Linked DNA regions of Homo sapiens: all the other regions are linked to region 1. Evidence: promoter capture Hi-C in 16 types of primary human blood cells and fetal thymus (Javierre and others, 2016). All regions are on one chromosome and are shown on one strand. The core of a region is centred on a gene start or on the middle of the fragment in contact, and the rest is flanking DNA. Distances in the headings are between cores, read along the strand shown.

The links. The method cuts DNA at HindIII sites, captures the fragments that hold promoters and counts their contacts. A CHiCAGO score of 5 or more calls a contact.
Region 2: a fragment that was not itself captured here is called in contact with the fragment with the promoter of CA2 in region 1 in 2 of 17 cell types (naive B cells and M1 macrophages); the score reaches 5.4 in naive B cells.
Region 3: a contact is called between a fragment that was not itself captured here and the fragment with the promoter of CA2 in region 1, in 4 of 17 cell types (total B cells, naive B cells, monocytes and 1 more). The highest score is 10.1, in total B cells.
Region 4: a contact is called between a fragment that was not itself captured here and the fragment with the promoter of CA2 in region 1, in 11 of 17 cell types (M1 macrophages, total CD8 T cells, total CD4 T cells and 8 more). The highest score is 12.2, in M1 macrophages.
Region 5: a fragment that was not itself captured here is called in contact with the fragment with the promoter of CA2 in region 1 in 14 of 17 cell types (endothelial precursors, fetal thymus, total CD4 T cells and 11 more); the score reaches 10.9 in endothelial precursors.
Region 6: a contact is called between a fragment that was not itself captured here and the fragment with the promoter of CA2 in region 1, in 16 of 17 cell types (monocytes, neutrophils, M2 macrophages and 13 more). The highest score is 17.6, in monocytes.
Region 7: a fragment that was not itself captured here is called in contact with the fragment with the promoter of CA2 in region 1 in 17 of 17 cell types (endothelial precursors, megakaryocytes, neutrophils and 14 more); the score reaches 24.8 in endothelial precursors.

Annotation. Positions count from the first base shown.
Region 1 is chr8:85,462,303-85,465,264 of GRCh38, forward strand. CA2 (carbonic anhydrase 2) reads left to right here and starts at 1,705. Exons shown (of 7, transcript NM_000067.3): 1 at 1,705-1,813. The coding sequence starts at 1,780. It overlaps CA3-AS1 (CA3 antisense RNA 1), which reads right to left and starts at 2,613. Exons shown (of 3, transcript NR_121630.1): 1 at 2,280-2,613; 2 at 434-499. RefSeq lists silencers at 941-1,200, 1,271-1,590, 1,701-2,170 and an enhancer at 1,814-2,313. The HindIII fragment of the contact is 7,146 bases long and covers 1-2,962 here.
Region 2 is chr8:86,378,180-86,381,141 of GRCh38, forward strand. It overlaps WWP1 (WW domain containing E3 ubiquitin protein ligase 1), which reads left to right. Exons shown (of 25, transcript NM_007013.4): 4 at 2,547-2,685. Among named protein-coding and RNA genes, the nearest start is that of WWP1-AS1, 35 kb to the left of the region's middle. The HindIII fragment of the contact is 266 bases long and covers 1,249-1,514 here.
Region 3 is chr8:86,332,608-86,335,569 of GRCh38, forward strand. It overlaps WWP1-AS1 (WWP1 antisense RNA 1), which reads right to left. Exons shown (of 6, transcript XR_007060994.1): 6 at 667-1,592. Among named protein-coding and RNA genes, the nearest start is that of WWP1, 8.5 kb to the right of the region's middle. The HindIII fragment of the contact is 647 bases long and covers 1,254-1,900 here.
Region 4 is chr8:86,103,631-86,106,592 of GRCh38, forward strand. The region is part of intron 1 of ATP6V0D2 (ATPase H+ transporting V0 subunit d2); the gene reads left to right. Among named protein-coding and RNA genes, the nearest start is that of ATP6V0D2, 6.2 kb to the left of the region's middle. The HindIII fragment of the contact is 184 bases long and covers 1,482-1,665 here.
Region 5 is chr8:86,066,105-86,069,066 of GRCh38, forward strand. The region is part of intron 1 of PSKH2 (protein serine kinase H2); the gene reads right to left. Among named protein-coding and RNA genes, the nearest start is that of PSKH2, 2.1 kb to the right of the region's middle. The HindIII fragment of the contact is 1,036 bases long and covers 1,012-2,047 here.
Region 6 is chr8:86,048,987-86,051,948 of GRCh38, forward strand. The region is part of intron 2 of PSKH2 (protein serine kinase H2); the gene reads right to left. Among named protein-coding and RNA genes, the nearest start is that of PSKH2, 19 kb to the right of the region's middle. The HindIII fragment of the contact is 2,595 bases long and covers 280-2,874 here.
Region 7 is chr8:86,014,707-86,017,668 of GRCh38, forward strand. It overlaps the pseudogene RPL36AP31. Among named protein-coding and RNA genes, the nearest start is that of PSKH2, 53 kb to the right of the region's middle. The HindIII fragment of the contact is 4,221 bases long and covers 1-2,962 here.

The DNA of each region.
Region 1 (2,962 bases), core at 455-2,954:
TTAAAAACTTTATTGCTGCTTTCTTGCCTAAGAATTCCCTGTGACATCAACCCAAAACCCACATAAGCAGAAGTACACAATTTTCTAGAATCTTAGAACAAGTAAGTCTAAACATGAATCATATTTGTTTGGATGAAATTGACTGAAATAAATAGTAAAGAGTGATTTTGAGATACATATTGCAAAAATGTCCACTAATAACTTATCCTTGTATTTATCTGTATATTTTCAAAGGTAAGTAATGTGATGTCAAGGCCGACACAATCACATTAAACTGTGTCCTGCTTCCCCAACTGTAACTCTAATACTATTGCCCTCAGAGATTGCAGAGACCACAGAACCGAACTCCTTCCCACAAACCCCCGGATTTTTCTGTGGCAAAATCCCTTGTAGGAAATGAATTCTCTCTATATCTCAAAACAGCCTCACTTACCCAGTAGGCCCTGTAAGCACAGTGTCTCAGGTCCACAATACTTTTAGATGCCCAGGAAAATGTTTCCTTTTAAAATAAGAACAAAAAAGAAAAAAATTAGGTGTTGGTTAAAGAAAATGTTTAAATATATAATATTAAGATATTTATCTTTATGTCAGTGTTGGTATAAATGCGTGTTTATGAAAAAGGGACCCACCAAGGTGAAATGCCGTAGGACCCACAAATGTCATAATGCTGGCTGGCCTCAAAATGTCCTTCCTATTAAACTATTTTGAATGATTCCTAGGTATGCCAGATGCCAATTTTTCTTGGCCAGCCAGGGAACGTCTCATGTCTTTGGAAGAAATTATCTTTCTCTTACTGGATTCTTCTGAGAAAAGTGATTTGTTAAAAGTTTTGGTTATTTCAAATCAATATGTACTCAACTAGGACGTCTCCTCACCCACGTTAATTTTTTAAAGAGGAGGAAAGTAGGAGAAGATGAGCGCTTCATGTAAGGCTCTGCCAGCCTACGAGGAAATGCAATCCTCCAGGCTCGCCCGAGCGTGGGCTGCGGGCAGGGGACTGTGGGGCCGTTGTCTCGTTTTATTCCACGGCCGTGCAGCAGAGGGCGCGTGCCTCTCAGCACTCATGCTGCGCGCTCCCCTGCGCCTCTAGGATCGTATCCCTATTTGCCCCAAGGTCATAGCTCCTAACCCAGCTTGCCAGCCCCAGGCCGGGGACACCAGAGACTGAGCCCTTCGCGCTGGAGACCCCGGCGCGGGTGGGGCGGGAGGGCTCCGGGGCCAAGAGACAGGTCACAATGGGGACAGGGGACGAAAGGCGCCGGGGGTCCGGGTCCCGAGCAGTCCCCGCCGCCGCCAGACTCCGCAGCCGGGAGGGGGATGGGGTGCGCGTAGAGGCTCCGCGGCCCGGGTTGGACGGAGGAGCCCAGGAGCCACCGCAGCCGCCGCACGCCCAGAGCTCCGAGCTTCGCTGCCAGCCCAGGACACCGGGGCCCTGCCGTGGGCCGAGGGGAGCCGGGCGGCGGGAGAGGAGCCCCGGAGCCCCGGAGCCCCGGAGCCCCGCCGGGCGCCAGCCGAGAGGGCGTTTTCCCCGCCCCCGGAGACTCGCCCGCCCGGCCCGCCCCGCCCCGAGCGCGGGGAGTTCACCTCCGCCCGTCACCACCTCCCCTTGTCGCCTAGGTCCACCCGAGCCCCCTCCCCCGGGCCGCCCCCGAGCACGAAGTTGGCGGGAGCCTATAAAAGCTGGTGCCGGCGCGACCCGCGGACACACAGTGCAGGCGCCCAAGCCGCCGCCGCCAGATCGGTGCCGATTCCTGCCCTGCCCCGACCGCCAGCGCGACCATGTCCCATCACTGGGGGTACGGCAAACACAACGGTGAGTGCCGGCGACGGCCAGCGCGGGGGCGCCCCGATCCCCGATCCCCGATCCCCGATCCCCGAGCCCGGATGCCGGCCCGGGGCCCGCAGCGCCCGCACATGCTGTTTACCGCGGCCGCGGGGAGTGCTGGAGGCTCAGGTGCGCCCCGGGCGCTCGCTCCGCTCGCGGCTCCGCGGCGCCGGGGATGTCCCCCTTGCCCCAGCTGCGAGGCCACTGTGGAGGAATCCCCGCGTCCGCCGGAGGCGCGTAGGGCCCGAGGGAGGGGAGGCGCAGCCCTGGCCGCGGGACCCGAGGACAGTCCCTCCCGGGTCCCGACCTGGGGATCATTTTAACCGGACCTAGGAGGAGGCGGGAAAGGGTTGTAACGGAAAATTCTAGTTGTTGATCGCAGAGAAATTAAGAGACTCCCCTCCCCCCTCCCCCACCTTCCACCCCCACCCCACCCCTCCAGCTTCAGCACCACCTGTGGCTAAGGCGCTCAGCACGAACTGTCCCGGGGCATTTTCCAGTGCTGGTTTGAATCCATGGCTCTGATTTCCGAGTTTTCCCTTCATCTCTCGACTTCTAATGTTAGGGGGTCGGACATCAGGAATCGGGTTTTATCTTGGCCTCAGATCTGGTTCTTCGGAGCCAGCGGAGCAGAGGAGCATGCGTCTGGCGCACCTAGCGCATCTTTGGAGGGTGTGGGGCTTCCCAGGTAGTGGGGAACCCTGACGGTTAAAGGTGGGGTGGGCCCGGGCCTGGGCAGTGAGGAAAGGATCCAGACCTCCTTGAATGTCTTAAGTGAGCTTGCATATCCCAAAATCGCAACCACAAGCCCTGACATTAGTGTCTGCCCGATTTCAGTTGCTGAATTTCAGTAAAACGACCTTAAAATAGCTAATATTTATATAGCACTCAGTGATCTAAGAGCTTTACATATATCGATTCTAATTCTTACAGCGACATCTATGAGGTAGATTTCTAATTATCCCATATTACAAATGTGGAAACTGAGGCACAGATTACGTGTTTTCCCAAAATTTAGCCCATTGTTAAGTGATGCTTCTAAAATTGGAACTGAGCAGATTGGCTCCGGAATGATTGCTCTTCTCTAGGGGTCTGGGTGTACCTTTCCCCACAATGGGGGATTCACATGTCTTCTTT
Region 2 (2,962 bases), core at 132-2,631, 920 kb after region 1:
ATTTAAGTCTCCCTTCCTTTTCCTCTGCCCCCACCAAAAACACTCAAAACCAATCAGTTGGTGTTTTTATTTTAAAATAATGTATTAAATTGGAGCTAATTGAAATATTTCAATGTTAAACTTTTCAAATCTAGGAATATATCATATCATTTTTTTTAAGCCTTTGTTTCCATTGGTAAAGTTTTATAGTTCTCTTCATGTGACTCTTACTTATTTCTTAAGTTTATTACTAGATTTTTTGAAGGGATGTTATTGTGAGTGGGATTTTTGAGTTAACTCTCCCTACCCTCTCACAGGTGACTCATTTTCTGATAGTTTAAAAATACTTATATAACCTTAGAGTGGAGGACATTCTGTGTATAACACCAAAGGAAACTCATTAAATGAGAAAAAAAATCTATATATTCTACTAACTAGAACAACTTTTTGAATTAATAAGGTTGTCTTCTAGTTATTTAAAATCACATTATTTATATGTACATTTTGCTAGCATATTTATAAATTCCTCATGAGATTAAAGATTATTATCTTTGAAAAATCTCTTTTCTTACCTTACCCTCTAGTATTGTTGAGTATTTTGCCAAGTAAGGGTATTCAGTGGACGTATTTTGGATGGATCTGTAATGAACTCAGAGAAGAGTTAATACTATATAGTCAGTAATAATAGAGTAACAGCTACCATTGTTGGATGCCAGACATTCATTGATGGTGATAGTGCCTTGCATGCCTTCACTCACCAATCCTAAGAATCAGGTACTGCTGTTCTTCTGATTTTTCAAGTAAGGGATGGAGAAATTAATTGACTTACTGTGGTCAGGCTTTTAGTAAGTGGCACATTTGAAAAATGAACCCAGATATGTCTATCCCTCTGCTTTTAACACCATCATATACTGACTTTTCCTTCTTCCAGTCTTCTGCTATATGGATAAGACTTACATATACTGAGGAAATATATGAGCACTTTTATTCAAAGAATCTTGGGAAGTTTCTTGGGAGAGAGCAAGTCTGGGCCTTCTATATTAGTCCAGTGGCGCTGAACTTAGAGCAGTTTGGAACGATGAAGGATGGAAATGAGTTTTGCTAAGACCCTGGTAGTAGCAGTTCAGACATAACATTGAACACTCTTTAATTGCTATGTTGCCGGTACTTAAATATAGTATTTGCTTGGAATCTTGCATTTATCACATTGTATTTCAGTGATTTATTTGTGTGACTATTTAGATTATTATTCTCTCACAATAGAATGGAAGCTTACATAGCTTTGGTTGTTTTTATATCCTTAACATCCGGTGTGTATGACATGAAAGAGGCTTTTCCCTTCCTCATCTCTGATCTAGGGTGTTCACAGGTAATTGATTATAGAGGTGATCTTGATAAGTTGTTCTTACTGCCTGTTCATCAGTATTTTGCCCAGAAAGTAGATAGTCCCTGATTTCTTCATATCTCAGGTATATTAGATTTTCACTTTCTGGAAGGGGTTATGATTAACTTTTATAATGACATTTTGATTTTTAAGCTTTTATTTGAAAATGCAAATACTACTTCTTTTCGAAGCTAACTTTCCAGATAAAACATTAAAGCATTTTTTTAAGTGCCACAGTTATGTAATTTCAGAAAGACAAGTTAATAGTACCTGGCAGGGATGTTAATGGGCATGTTGAATCTGAAGACACTTTTCCCTTGATCTTTAATGCAGTTGTTGGTGAGAATGTGGAGAAATCAGTGTATATTGTTGATAGGAATATAAAATGGTGCAGCCACTTTGGAAAATAGCCTGGCAGTTACTCAACAGAGGGTTATCACATGAGCCAGGAGTTCTACTCCAAAGTATATGCCCAAGAGAAATGAAAACATACGTCCACAAAAAAGCCTGTGCACAAATGTTCATAACAGCTTTATGCACAATAGCCACAAAGTGGAAGCAGTTCATATATTTATCAGTTAATAGATAAAATGTCATATACCCATATAATAGAATGGTATTTGGCAAGAAAAGGAGTGGAGTACTGGTGCATGTTACAATATGGATGAACCTCAAAAATGTAATGCTGAGTGAAAGAAGCCAGTCACAAAAAAAACCCACATTATATGATTCCATCTATATGAAATGTCCAGAATAGGCAAATTTAAAGAGACAGAGAGTAGGTTAGTGGCTGCCTAGGGATGGGGGTGGGGAGAGGGTTGATTGGGAGGAGAAAGAAGGGGGTGACTGCTTAATGGTATGGAGTTTATTTTTATGGTAACAAAACTGTTTTAAAATTGATTGTGGTGATGGTTGTGCCACTCTGAATATAGTGAAACCATTGAATTGTACAGTTTAAGTGGGTGAATTATATGATATGTGAATGATAGCTCACTAAAACTGTTACAGAAACATTCAAATGGCTCTCAAGCATTATCAGTAGCCCTTTTGTATTGTTTCTTCATTCTGCCAACGAGAAGAGTTCTAGTTGCACAAGAAGCACAATTCCATTCTTATTGATTGATTAGTGTGCAGTACTACTTTTTGGCAACACATACTCACTAGTGAATTATTTGTCTGTTAGTTTCTAGTGCCAAACTTAAAAGAAAAAAGAACTGGTTCGGAACAGCAATATATACAGAAGTAGTTGTAGATGGAGAAATTACGAAAACAGCAAAATCCAGTAGTTCTTCTAATCCAAAATGGGATGAACAGCTAACTGTGTAAGTACCTTGTGTAAAGGACGGAAAATCTTCACAAGAAAGTGTATTTTTTGGAATATGTTTTTTGTTTTGTAAAATGACTTCAAAGTAATGAGTGATTTTTTTAAAGTGTGGATCGACAATTTAAAGTATGGAGAAATTTTTGGTTAAATTTTTTTTTTAAGGGGAGGATGCATAATAATGCTTGCTTTTGCTTTATAAACCAAATTATTTCCATTTTCTCTGACTGTTTTGGTACAGAAATAAATAGGACTGCAAATTAGTCATTCTTAATTTT
Region 3 (2,962 bases), core at 327-2,826, 870 kb after region 1:
GAAATGTAAGTTAGTTTGACATTTGAAAATCAAAAAACTTAATTAATCATATTAATAGTCTACACACAAAAACAAAAATCATCTCAATAGACGCCGCCCCCCGCCCCGCCACTGCCAAGCACTGATACAAATGTAACATTTATTCATGATTAAAAAGCTCTTGACAGGCCAAGCACAGTGGCTCATGTCTGTGATCCCAGCACTTTGGGAGGCTGTGGTGAGAGGATCATTTGAGTCCAGGAGTTCGAGACCAGCCAGGGCAACATAGTGAAACCCTGTCTCTACAAAAAAATGAGCCGAATGTGGTGGTATGCATCTGTAGTCCCAGGTACTCAGAAGGCTGAGGTGGAAGGATCACATGAGCCCAGGAGGCTGAGGCTCAGTGAGCCATGATCGTGACAGCACTCCAGGCTAGGTGACTGAGACCCTATCTCAAAAATATAAAAAAGCTCTCAGCAAACTAAGAAAAGAAGAGAACTTCCTCAACCTCATAAATTACGTATACAAAAAGCCTAAAGATAGTATACTTGATGGTAAAACACTGAATGCTTTGTCTGAAAATCAGGAACAAGGTAAGGATGTATTTCTCATCACTTCTGCTCAACATTGTACTGGATGTTCTAGTCCATGCAATAGGGCAAGAAAAGGAAATAAAAGCATACAGAATGGAAGGAAAAAAATAAAACTCTTTATTTGGAGAAACATGATTGTATACATAGAAAATCAAAAGAAATCTATAAAATACTACTAGAACTAATAGGTTTTTAAACATGATCTCAGTGTACAGGACTAATATTAAAAAAGAATTGTATTTAAATACCCTATTAATGAACCACTAACAATGAAATATCATTTATAATATGAGGCACTTCAAAATGTTCATGGAAAAATTGAATTAAAAGATAAAGAATATAAACTTTATTTCTCAACATAAGCTCCATCGAGGTCAACCATGGTTGTAAGTGATGACACCAGTCATTTAATCCATCCCTAAAAAAATTGAGATTCATGGAAATTTAACCATGTCTTTTTTACATGATTAAATGACGAAAAATGGGAGCCCTTTGCAGATTTTTTAAGATTAGGAAACAAAAAGAAGTTAGAAAGAGCCAAATTAGGACTGTAAGGTCGATGCCTAATGATTTCTCATTGAAAGTCTTGTAAAATTGCCCTTGTTTGATGAGAAGAATGAGTGGGAGCATTGTTGCGGTAGAAAAAGACTGGTGAAGCTTTTCCAGGAATTTTTCTGCTAAAGCTTTAGCAAACTTTCTCAAAACACTCTTGAAACAAGCAGATATTATTGTTCTTTGGCTCTTCAGAAAGTCAACAAGCAAAATAAGTATCCCAAAAAACTATTCCCACGACCTTTGCTCTTGGCAGGTCTGCTTTTGCTTTGACTGGACCACTTCCACCTCTTGGTAGCCATTGCTCTGATTGTACTTTGTCTTCGGGATTATACTGGTAAAGCCATGTTTCATCTCCTGTTACAATTCTTGAAAGAAATGCTTCAGGATTTTCATCTTACTTGTTTAAAATTTCCATTAAAACTCTGTTCTTGTTTGCAGTTGATCTGGGTACAATGGTTTTGGCACCTGTTGAGTGAAAAGTTTGCTCCACTTTAGTTTTTCAGTCAGATTGTGTAAGCTATGAGATTTGAGTTTTCTATGGTGTTGGCTATTGTTTCTCCTACTAATTGTTAGGCCTCTTGAATGAGGTTATGAACAAGGTGAGTTTTTTCCTTGCAAACTGATGTGAAGGTCTGTCATTGCAGGCTTCATCTTTTACATAATCTCCTCCCTTCTTAAAATGAATTACCCATTTGTAAACTGCTGATTGCTTTGGTGCATTGTCCCAATAAATTTTTCATAAAGCATCAGTGATTTTACCATTGTTCTACCCAAGCTTCCCCATAAATTTGATGTTTGTTCTTGCTTCAACTCTAGCAGAATTCATGCTACTCTGATAGGGGCTTTTTTTCAAACTGATGTCTTATCCTTCTTAGTGACTCAAAATACATCCTGCTCATACATGTTATAGCAAGTTAGTATGAGTTCATCTGGGGGCGAAAAATTTTAAAATCCATGCATAGTTTTTTCAAAATATGCATATTTCTATGAACTTGTTGAAGATCTCTTGCAGCATCAAAAAGCATAACATATGCAAAGAACCTGGAAGAGTCAAAATCATTTTGAAAAAGAACAAATTTGGAAAATTTACACTTCCCAATTTTAAGACTTTCTAAAGTTATAGTAATCAAGACAGTGTGATATTTGTGTAAGGATAGACATATGGTTCAATGGAAGGAATAGAGAGCCCAGAAATAGACAGAGTTTTCACAAAAGTTCCAAAGTAATTCAATGGGGAAAGGATTGTCTTTTCAACAAATGGTATTGAAACAACCATATATCTATTTAGAAAAAAAAAATGAACATTGACTCTTTCATCTCAGCATATGCAAAAATTATTTTGAAATAGATTATAGACCCAAATGTAAAAGCTAAAGCTATAAACTTTAAGAAAAAAAGTATTAACAAATCTTCACTGTCTTAAAGTAAAATTTCTTAAATATGTCACAAAATGATGTGAACTTCATCAAAATAAAAACATTGACTTTTCAAAACACATTGTTAAGAAAATGAAAATGCAAGTATATTTGTTGTATAAAAATTTCTCCAAAACCTAGTGACCGAAAACAATAATACAGATTTATTATTTCTCACAGTTTTTGCAGTTCTGGAATATATGTATTTCTTGGCTGGCTACTTCTGGCATAGAGTGTTACGTGAGATTGCAGTCATCTGAAGACTTGAGAGGGATTGGAAGATCCATTTCCAAGGTGCCACATATGGCTAGCAAATTGCTGCTGTCCATTTATCAACAGGCCTCAGTTCCTGTCTGAGGCAAGACAGCAAGACAAAATCCTTGCTAAAGCACTGTCTTTCTCTAGAGCAAGAGTACCCCA
Region 4 (2,962 bases), core at 324-2,823, 640 kb after region 1:
GAGTCCCTGCCCTAAAAAGGATCCTACCTGGAGAATAAAAATATTAGAAAAATGAGAACCCCTTAAGGATGGCAATTGGGTAGTACCTACTGAAATTCCAAATGCTTATACACTTTGTCCAGGAATTCCAAGTCTCATAGACAAACTTACACACATGTGAGATGACAGCTATACAAGGCTCTTTATGTGGCATAGTTTTTTGTTGTTGTTTTTGAGACAGAGTCTCACTCTGTCACCCTGGCTGGCATGTAATGGCACAATCTCGGCTCACTGCAACCTCTGCCTCCTGGGTTCAAGTGATTCTTGTGCCTCTGTCTCCCGAGTAGCTGGGACTACAGGCGTGCACCACCATGCCTGGCTAATTTTTTGTATTTTTAGTAGAGATGGGGTCTCACCATGTTGGCCATGACAGGTCTCAAACTCCTAACCTCAAGTGATCCACCCACCTCAGCCTCCCAAAGTGCTGGGATTACAGGCATGACCCACCGCGGCTGGCCTTTTATGTGGCATAGTTTGGAATAGCAAAAGATGGAAACAAATCAAGTGTCCCTCTGCAGGAAATAAGTTTTCATTTTTTAAAATTTATTTTTTTAATAGAGACAGGGTCTTATGTTGCCCAGGCTACTCTCAAACTCCTGGGCTCAAGCAATCCTCCCACCTTGGCCTTCTAACATGCTGGGATTATAGGCCTGAGCCACCACAACCAGCCAGGAATAAGTTAAATAAGTTATGGAACATTCACATAATGGAATATTCTGCATTTAAAAGGAAAAACGCATGAGGAAGCACTCTAAAAGGAGAAATATGGAAAGATTACCAAGATACATTAAGTCAGAAAAGCAAGGGGAAGAACCAGGTGTGGCATGGCACTCTTTAGTAAAAAGTGGGATAAATTTTAAAAATATACTTCCTATATGATTACCTAGCTACAAAGAAACTGTGAAAGGATTAAAAAGAAACTAAAAATAGAGGTTACGTGAAGCTAGGAACGAGTGGCAGGGGGTGGTGGGTAGGTGAGTGACAAGCATAGGGACCTGTCACTGTTTACCCATATATACACCTATTACTTATTTTTAATTTCAAAATAACATATGGGAGGATGACTGATTTCAAAGAGCTTTCTCTTTGCTTCCTTAGACATTATTTGTACCTCTAATTATAGCACTTTTTCTGCCTTATATTAAAAAGACATATCCAATTCTCTCCTGTTTAAAACACATACACACACACACACACACACACACACACATCAAGAGCTTCCATCAGGCAAGATAAATGATAAATGACAGCTTAAAAGGCTGATCCACCTTGTAAGCCCTTCGTCAGAATGTTTTGCCTTTTCTAGAGCTGCACCTTCAATCACAAATTCCATCCCTTATCCCATGTTCCTGGAAAGCGACCATCTCCCTTTAAAGTCTTCATTTAAGTCACTTCCTCTGTAAGCCCCTTCCTACAGAATCTATCATGGGATGGAATTGACAAGCTTCAACTTTAGCTCCACGGTACCTTGTAATGAACCTAATCCTGTATAACATCTGTGACATTTGCATAGATGTGTCATCCTGAGGCAGAACATTTGCCTCGTTTGTCTATCTAGCTCCAGAGGCTGCTGCAGTTACAGGCTTAACTGATAAATAAATATATAGCTCTATCTGCCTTATTGCAAGCTTTTTTATTTTTATTTTTTAAGACGGTCTGGCTCTGACACCCAGGCTGGAGTGCAGTGGCATGATCTCAGTTACTGCAACCTCTACCTCTCCCGGACTTAAGCGACCCTCCCACCTCAGCCTCCTGAGTAGCTGGAACTACAGGCACAGGCCACTGTTCCTGACTAATTTTTGTATTTTTGTAGAGACAGGGTTTATTCATGTTGCGCAGGCTGGTCTTGAACTCCTGAGCTCAAGTGATCTGCCCACCTCAGCCTCCCAAAGTACTGAGATTACCGGTGTAAGCCAGCGAGTGCCTAGCCTGTAAACTTCTTTTTTCTTTTCTTTTTTTTTTTTTTTGAGATGGATTCTCTGTCGCCTAGGCTGGAGTGCAGTGGCGCGATCTCGGCTCACTGCAAGCTCCGCCTCCCAGGTTCATGCCATTCTCCTGCCTCAGTCTCCCGAGTAGCTGGGACTACAGGCACCCACCACCACGCCCGGCTAATTTTTTATATTTTTAGTAGAGATGGGGTTTCACCGTGTTAGCTTGGATAGTCTCGATCTCCTGACCTCGTGATCTGCCCATCTCGGCCTCCCAAAGTGCTGGGATTATAGACGTGAGCCACTGTGCCTGGCTGCCTGTAAACTTCTTAAAGGCAGAAAGTACACCTTAAACTTTTCTCTCTCCTACCTCCCTAAGCCTAAGAGTGTATTTTGCATGTAGTAAGAATCTGAAAATACACACTGGAAATATCTACATATTGGGTTCAAGTCCTGGATCTTCTGCTTTATGGTTCTGGGATTCTAAGCAAGTGCTTAACCTTTAACATGGTGCTTTTTTTTTTTATTTTTATTTTTTTATTTTGAGACAGGGTCTCATTCTGTTGCCCAAGCCAGGGAATGCAGTAGTGGGTAGCGTGATCATGGCTCAATGCAGCCTCAATCTCCTAGGCTCAAGTGATCCTCCCACCTTAGCCTTTCAAGTACCTGGGACCACAGGTGCATGTCACCAAGCCTGGCTAACTTTTTTGTCATTTGCAAAGACAAGGTCTCACTTTGTTGCCCAGGCTGGTCTTGAACTCCTGGCCTCAAACAATCCTCCTGCTTCAGCCTCCCAAAATGCTGGGATTACAAGCGTGAGCACTGATAAGTGCTTTCTTATCTCATCTTTAGATGGTATCTCCGTGGCCTAACTCCCAGTTCACTGGGAGGATCCAAAATATCTGAAGATGTTTTGTAAATTGTAAATCTTAACAATACACCCCTGCACTGTAGTTTACATACAACAAGAATTTGTTTTCCCTCTTCTGCTAGAC
Region 5 (2,962 bases), core at 280-2,779, 600 kb after region 1:
AACCCAACTTCTTGTTTTACTGATGAGGAAATTTGAAGACCACATTAGCCAATTGGTTGTTTACGTTGTAGAGTCAGGATTAGAACGCAGGTCTCCTTTTTTTTTTTTTTTTTGAGATGGAGTTTTGCTCTGTCACCCAGGCTGGAGTACAGTGGCATGATCTTGGCTGACTGCAACCTCTGCCTCCCGGGTTCAAGAGATTCTCCTGCCTCAGCCTCCTGAGTAGCTGAGATTACAGGTGCACACCACCATGCCTGGCTAATTTTTGTATTTTTTTTAGTAGAGACGGGATTTCACCATGTTTGCCAGGCTGGTCTTGAACTCCTGACCTGAAGTGATCTGCCCACCTCAGCCTCCCAAAGTGTTGGGATTACAGGTATGAGCCACTGTGCCTGGACTTCATTTTAATAAAACCTCTCCTAGCTAAGGATGACAGAGAATGGAATGTACTCAGGGAGTACCCAGGGAGAAGGCACGTTTTTATATCACATATTCAATACCAAAGATTCAAATGCAAATACTAAACTATGCTTTAAATAGTCTTACTTCTTTTATTGAGCTTATTTTTCCTGTAACTTTTTTTTTTGCCTTCTTGTTTGTTCTTTATATTCCTGTGTGTATTGAATAAAAATGACATTTGGCTGTACCAGATTACAGAAAACAGCTTTGTTCTCCACAGAGCATTTAATTTTCTGGCCAATTACCTTATCAAAACAGATAGCAATTTAGTAATCTTAAATAGATTCTTTCCCCTTTTCCCTTTCCAACTCTGCTTTTCTATTCACATGCATTCTCAGTGTGATTTTGAAGATAATCACAGGCATTTCAAATTCTATTGCTTTGCAGACCAACCAAGTTTTATATTACCTCTATTGTGGATGAAAGCACTTTGTAAATGCTAATTTATCGCTATGCCCTCAAAGCTGCCATCAAACTCATTTGTTCACAGAATTAATCATATCAAACAAACTACCATTTCTGAGAACTACACGCTTTTGCTCAAATAAAAGAAGCTTTATTCAATACTGTTAAGGGGGCTTCATATTTCCAATATTTGAAAAAATGCTAGTAATTTGGCATTGGAGGAAACAGTACACTTGAAGCCAAGATTTAGAGTGGTGGAAATAAATGCCTCAGATTGTTATTCAATTTGTCCCATAACAAATTCTTATAGCTACAGCCTTGCTCGTGAGTCCTCAACTGCCATGAATGGTGACCAACTTTATGATTTGCGTGGCTATACCTTGTAAAGTGCCTAGCACAGAGGAGTAGCAATAAACACTGAACAAAAGAATCATTCACTGAATACATATTATTCCTGAATCATCATATATATTTTGCAAACATTAAGTAAAGATCACATCAAGCTGGGAAGAATGCCTTTATAAGGTCTTTTCATTTCCTTCACTTTTACCCCTCCACTCTCTTAAAGAGTAGCCTCAGAGTCAGTTTAGTAGGTTGGACAATTTTGTATCATCCCAGAGACTACGTAAATTGGAAATATTACTTTAACCTCAGCTGCTATGATACAAACTGGGAATTTTTGAACATAGATTAAAGATTTGAAACAAGGAAATAATAATAGTGTTACAATCTGCTTGAGAGAAACAATTATAATAAACTCCCAACAAGAAAGTAAATATACTCATATCTAAATTCTATCATCTCTTTTCTGCAAAAGTTATAGATGGAATCACAACGGAGAAGGAAGACGACTGTGTTCTAGTCCCAATTCTACCACTAACTTGGACAAGTCACTTAACCTTTGGGGACACAACTACTCATTGGTTAAAGATGAGCCTTGAGTTAAAATCTCTGAAGCCCTTATAATGTTGAGATCCTCTACTTCTGTGATGCCTTTACACTCTATGGGGCTGGGTCTACCCCTGGATTGGGAATTAGTAGGGTGGATGAAAACTAGACCAGACTAGCATCATCTCTCTGACTACAAATGACCAGAGATGCCATTTAACCAATTCAGTCTTGACAAGACCCTGTACCTACTCAGATTCAGTTCAGTCATATTAGCCAGCCTTGTTCTTCTGTAAGCTTAGCAGCCACCGAACTAATCCTCCAGGAGTCACTGTACTAAAAGTTCTCAAGGAGGCCAGGAAATGGCTCTGCATAGATTCTGGACAGAGCACTGTGACGAAGTGAGCATGCAATTCTAGGACCAGCAGTGCCTTGGGAAGCCAGCTGAGCCACCCATTATTGTGTCTCCCCAAACACACAGAGGAGAAGGGGATTCCGTGATTTACTTGGTCAAAATGTCCAACATGTCCAACATGGTACACTCAGGAGGCCAACCAACCTGAAATCTTCTACATAGGAAGGGCTTATTTGTACTTCATGAAAACAATAATCAGCATTGCACTAATGTCTGCATGAGGACTGGTACCATGCACTGTGCAGCATAATTTACATGTATTACTTTAATTATGCTCACAACAGTCTTATGAGATAGATACTCCCATTTTACAGAGCTAGAAACGAAGGAAGGAAAAAAGCTAAGGAATGTTCTACATGGTACATGATAGAAGATATGGAACTGGACCTCAAGTCTGGCTGACTCAAAGGCGCATCTCTAGTTCACTCGCTGTAATCCCAATTTTTAGAATTAGTGGAAGATCCTTCACACACCAGGTCTGGCAGGACCCAGCCCCAGGATATTAGAGGCAAAGCCGTCTTCCACCGCAGATGCTGGAGGTTGGCAGACAGTCCTCTCACACCCCCACCCCCCACCTCCGAAGATAGGAATTCCTTCCCTTGTTTGCTGCTGCTCCTGCTCTCTTTTTTCCCATCCTCTGAACTCCCTGTTCAGAGATGTCAAAGAGAAATTGTACTGGGCACTTATGGAACACAGCAAGGAAGGCTTATCCCAGACTATTGCAATAGGAGTCGAGGCTTCTGCAACAGGGGAAAGAAAATGGACGCCTTCGAAACAAAAGGCAAGAAAGTTTTT
Region 6 (2,962 bases), core at 327-2,826, 590 kb after region 1:
AAACACAGAAATTCTCTTCCAAACTCTTTGTCCAATGAGTGAGAAAACCTTCTCAGAAATCTGTCCATTGTGCTGTTGTTATCAATACGAGTTCCCATACTGCATTTACGGGAGCTGGACAAGGCAAAGCAGCTGTCTTTTACGAACTATGTCAACATCAGGTCAGTGTTTGCAACACTGTGGTCATCTCACAGAGTTCCTGTGACTTCAAGAATGAGAAGGAGTAGAAGGGGAAAGTGGAATGGATTGAGAAATCATCAACTTTTCCCTCCCTTTGAAAGCTTACTCTGAGCCAGGCACAGTAGCTCACGTTTGTAATCCCAGCACTTTGGGAGGTTGAGGAAGAAGGATCGTTTGAGTCCAGGAGTTTGAGACCAGCCTGGACAACACAGCAAAACCCCATCTCTACAAAAAATGTAAAAATTAGCCAGGCACAGTGGCACATGTCTGTAATCCCAACTACTCAGGAAGCTGAGGTGGGAGGATTCCTTCAGCCCAGGCATTCAAGGCTGCAGTGAGCTATGATGGCAGCACCACACTCCAGCCTGGGTGACAGAGTGAGACCCTGTCTCTAAAAAGAAAGAAAGAGGAGAGAGAGAGAGAGAGAGAGCGAAGAGGGGAGGGGAGAGGCAGAGAGAGAGAAGAGGGGAGGGGAAGGCAGAGAGAGAGAGAGAGAAAGAGTGAGAAAGAAGAAAGAAAGAAAGAAAGAAAGAAAGAAAGAAAGAAAGAAAGAAAGAAAGAAAGAAAGAAAGAAAGAAAGAAACGAAAGAAAGAAAGAAAGAGAAAAGAAAGAAAAAGAAAGGAAGAAAGGAAGAGAGAAAGAGGAAGAAAGAAAGGAAGAAAGGCAGAGAGAGAGAGAAAGAGGAAGAAAGAAAGAAGGAAAGGAGGGAGGGAGGGAAGGAAGGAAGGAAGGAAGTGAAGTGCACTTCCTCAAACACACTGGGCCCTCACTGTTCCCAATCAGCTGAGAACAAATAGATTCAACATGTAACAAATAGATTCAAATAGATTTGACTACAAATAGATTCAACACGTAACAGCTATGACACAGTACAATATGCACAGCTAAGTAGTTCCTATTTCAGGGATTTATAGTGGCAGTGTTTACAGCAATTGCACATACTTTAAATACAATAGCAGCACTTCATAGTGGCATTTCTGAGCATGGGAATAAGAAGGCTGTTGCTTTATATTCAAATTTGCTTTCTGCATTATCTGCTGAGAAAGAAAAGAAACAATTTAATCTGAGGAATGCAAGCCCCTTTAAATTATCAGGCCAAGAGAGGCACTGAAATATAACAGCCTTCACTTCTCATTCTCCTCTTGTGCTAAATAATTACCTCTTGAAGCCACTTGCTATGTGGGCTCTACGCTATCTAACACCAAGTAGCCATAAAGTGCCATAGGTTGGACACCATCACTCATACCCCACAGTTCAACAATATAGCCAATCACTAATCAATGTTATTTATGTAAACCAGTGTTAATTCCTCTCAAACAACTTTGTATCAGCCCAGACCTAAGAGCACACGCCCCACAGAAGTTAGGACGTTTTCCAGAGCAGCTGTCCCCACTTTGGCCTGATCAGACAAGCTCTTAAAAACTATATTTTGTGCCTCAGCCTCATCCTGTAGGTTGACTCTACCAGCACATACCGTATACCCGGAAAACACTACAGTTTAGTGTCCTTTGTCCTCTGCAAAAGAGAAACATTGAGAAAATTGCCCATACGTTTGCTGTATCTCAAACACAATTTCTAATTGATGTGTGTTTTTAAAAGATGGTATTTCCAAGGAAAGATAAGGGAATCCTTCCATGTATTGTCTCTGCCATTGTGTAACGATAAAGCAGAGTCCATACATAGACATCACATTCTCCAATCTCTTAGCACCCTATTAACTCTATGTTTTGTTTTTTGTTGTTTTGTTTTGCTTTTTTTAGAGATGGGGTCTTGTTATATTGCCGAGGCTGGACTTGAACTCCTCCTGGTCTCAAGCCATCCTCCTGCCTCAGTTTCCCAAGTAACTGTGACTGCAGACCCACTCCCACCCCCACCCATGCCAACTTAACTCAGAATTTGTTTGTTTGTTTGTTTTTGAAATGGTGTCTCATTGTGTTGCCCAGGCTGGAGTGCAGTGGCATGATCGTGGCTCACTGCAACCTCCGCCTCCCGGGTTCAGGCGATTCTCGTGCCTCACTCTCCCATGCTGGGAGAGTGCCTCACTCTCACATGCTGGGATTACAGGCATGTGCCACCAAGCCCAGCTAATTTTTGCATTTTTGTAGAAACCGGGTTTCGCCACGTTAGCCAGGCTGGTCTCAAACTCCTAACCTCAGGTGATCCGCCTGCCTCGGCCGCCCAAATTGTTGGGATTACAGGCGTAAACACTGCCCCCCGCCTTAATCCAGAATTTGAATAATAAGAAACCAGTAAAAGAACTCTTCTTTTTTTTCCTTCAGTGTATTTAGGTAAATGAGACATGAGAAATATTTATCCCAGAAATAAAAGTTATAAAATAAATAAGCATATCTGACAAATACTCAAACACAGGAAAAACAAAATATAAACTCTGCAAGTCTAGAAAAAGCACATCAGTGACTGACACTCACAATGCCATGCCCTCTGGTTCTGGCTAGACATCTATTTGGCCCTGAATCCAGACAAATCTATCTGAGCTCAAGACTATTTAAATGAAGGTTAAATTAGATGGCTCCTCTGGAACATTTTAAGACAAGCAACTGAATCTTTCTGAAAGAGTATAAAATATGTGCAACAAGGTTTATGGAGAGCTTATTAAGATGACCCCAAATGATTGTACGTTTAAAATGCAGTTGAAGAAAATAAAGTAACCGGAGAAAAAGTTCTTCAGCCAAAGCTTATTATTCAAACATGAGTTATAAATTGCAGAATTCCTGAGCCATAAAGGACAACTGGAGAGTATCTAGGAGTCAATTTCACATT
Region 7 (2,962 bases), core at 192-2,691, 550 kb after region 1:
AGATCTTATGCTAGAATCACCCAGCTAAACTGTTCCCAAATTTCTGACTCACAGAAACTGTGAAAAATATGGTTCTTGTTTTAAGCCACTAAGTTTGAGGATAATTTATTGTGCAGCAACAGATGACTAACATAGACTTCAGTGAAAAATGAACTTAAAAATGGGATGCTAAGCATTGCTCATGGGGGAAAACGTTTTCACCTCAGGTGGACATTGTTGAAAGATTTCTTGGGATGTGCAGACAGGTCACTATCCAAAGCACATGTTGTAATGCACTAAGGATTTGGAGTCCCAAAGTTCCTTCTTGGTAACTCATCGCAACTCCAGCCTAACAGACTGATCTTCCTAAAAGTCAAGGAAGTGGGTGGGTCACCTGAGGTTAGGAGTTTGAGACCAGCCTGACCAATATTGTGAAACCCCACCTCTAATAAAACAAATACAAAAATTAGCCAGGCATGGTGGTGTGTGCCTGTAATCCCAGCTACTCAGGAGGCTGAAGCAGGGAGAAATGCTTGAACCCAGGAGACAGAGGTTGCAGTGAGCCCAGATCGTGCCACTGCACTCCAGCCTTGGCAACAGAGCAAGACTCCGTCTCAATAAATAAATAAATAAATAAATAAATAAATAAATAAATAATAAAAGCCAAGCAAACCGGGTCTGATGAAGCAAGAAGTTAAGAATTGGATTCATTCATTCAGTACCAAACACTGAAAAGAAATTGGACTGGCTTTAAAAAGGACCACGTAAAATGTGTGCACATATCCACTAGGGTATTAAATCTCTGGCAAATAACTATAGGTAAATCCTAAAATCCAAAACAAAATAAACTGCCCTGACTCATTCAGTTTCAATATAAAAATAAATAAAATATAATGTAATTAACAATAAAATGTACCTAAGAGAGAAAGAATGAAAGTTACAACCTGGAAATATTTCCGCTAATGAGATTGATTTGTTGTTTGACCACTTCCGCTGCTTCTTAGCGCCTTTAGGATTACCCTCCTCTCACTGTTCCCTTTCTTCTATTTCTATTAAAAATGACTCCACTTGGATTTTAATAATGAAGCATTAATATTTTCATCTGCAAAGATACATTCTCTACTGGTCTTGTCTCATTTCCTTCCATGAAACATAGGCCCAAGTCCCAAGTTTCTTGCTTTCCCTTGGCTTGGATCTAAGGGCAGCCTGACTTTTCTAGCTTTCCTCTGTAACTTCTACCATTACACCTCACCCCAGCCTACATGCTGACCTTTCGTTTCCCACCGCCTAGACTGAGAACCTGGTCCACAGTTAGTGCTAAATAAATACTAGTTGCTTTGTCCTTACCATAACTGTCACCATCGCCATCATCATCATCATGACCACCATCACTGTCATCTGTAGAAGTGCCAATTCCTTGTCTGGATTTCCAGCCCTTTGTTCCCCAGCTGGTTAGCTTCGGTGGGCAATCCTGTCTATTTAGGGGTATGGATTATCAACTTTGTCTGCTCAGAAATACATAACTTACCTGACCACTCCCTATCTTAGCCAATTTCCCTGGTCTTCAACCCCATGCCTTCCTCAATCCCTGGTACATTTATTTTCTTCTTCCACATAATCACAGCTTGTTAGAAGTAGAAATCATCTTAAAGATCATCTTGCTTAACCCCTACATTTTAAAAATGAGAAAAGCAAAATTTAAGTAGGTGTTATAACTAGCGGAGCCCACTTTCCATTCTCCAAGTCCAAGGTGTCTTTCTCTATGACCATGGTTCTCAGCCAGGGATGATTTCGGCACCCAAGCAGTGTCTGAAAACATTTCTGATTGTCAAAACGTGAGGGGCAGAGTATGCTCCTGGCATCTGCTAGTGTTTAGCAGTATCCTTGTCCTCTACTCACATTTAATCCTACTGCTGTAAATGGTGTTATATAGGAGACAAATGACGTTAAGAAATTAACGTAAGTACACTTGGCTAGTAAGTACAAAAGGCATCAATTACAAGGCCATCTGGCTTTAAGACACAATCCACTCTCCACAGTTGTGCCCTTGTCAAAAGAAAAGTAAAAAGGTGCTATATACTTCTGTTTCTGGCCCGGCCTCTTTCTTTCCGTGGTGATAGCACTCACACAAACATGGTGAACATTCCTAAAACCCGTCGGACTTTCTGTAAGAAGTGTGGCAAACACCAACCCCACAAAGTGACAAAATACAAGAAGAGCAAGGATTCTCTGAATGCCCAGGGAAAGCAGCGTTATGACAGAAAGCAGAGTGGCTATGGTGGGCAGACTAAGCTGATTATCCCGAAAAAGGCCAAAACTACAAAGAAGATTGTGCTAAAGTTTGAGTGCTTTGAGCCCAACTGCACGTCTAAGGCTATTAACAGATGCGTTTTGAACTGGGAGTAGATAAGAAGAGAAAGGGCCAAGTGATCCAATTCTAAGTGTCATCTTTTCTTTTATTATGAAGACAATAAAATCTTGAGTTTATGTTCAAAAAAAATGAAAGGTAAAAAAGTAACCCTCAATTATAGTATCATAATATTTTATATATTATAGTACATTATCATTTTTTCATTTTCCCAAATTTGGACCATTTATAGTTCTGAATTTCACAAGCATAAACTTATGTCCCCAGGGAAGAAAATTACTACTGTCCTTACTTGATGAGAAGAGGAATTGGCTTCAATAAGTGTTATAGGGCTCTGGGCCAAGTCTTCAGAGGAGTCTAAAATGATTTACTAGCTCAGCAAAGAAGAGGAGGACATCTTGCCGACAACACTGCAGTTAGAATATGTTACCATAGTTTGTTCTCATTCGAAAAGAAGTACATGAGGAAAAAGAAATATTTCCTGGACCCTGGACTTGTATGTACTTCCCTTTCACAAGTATTTCCTTTGTAAGTTGTTATTCCCCCAGCGGCCCTCTGCCAAAAATGGCAGTCTTTTTGTGTGCCCTTGGACATGAGGCAGGTGGCACCAGGCCC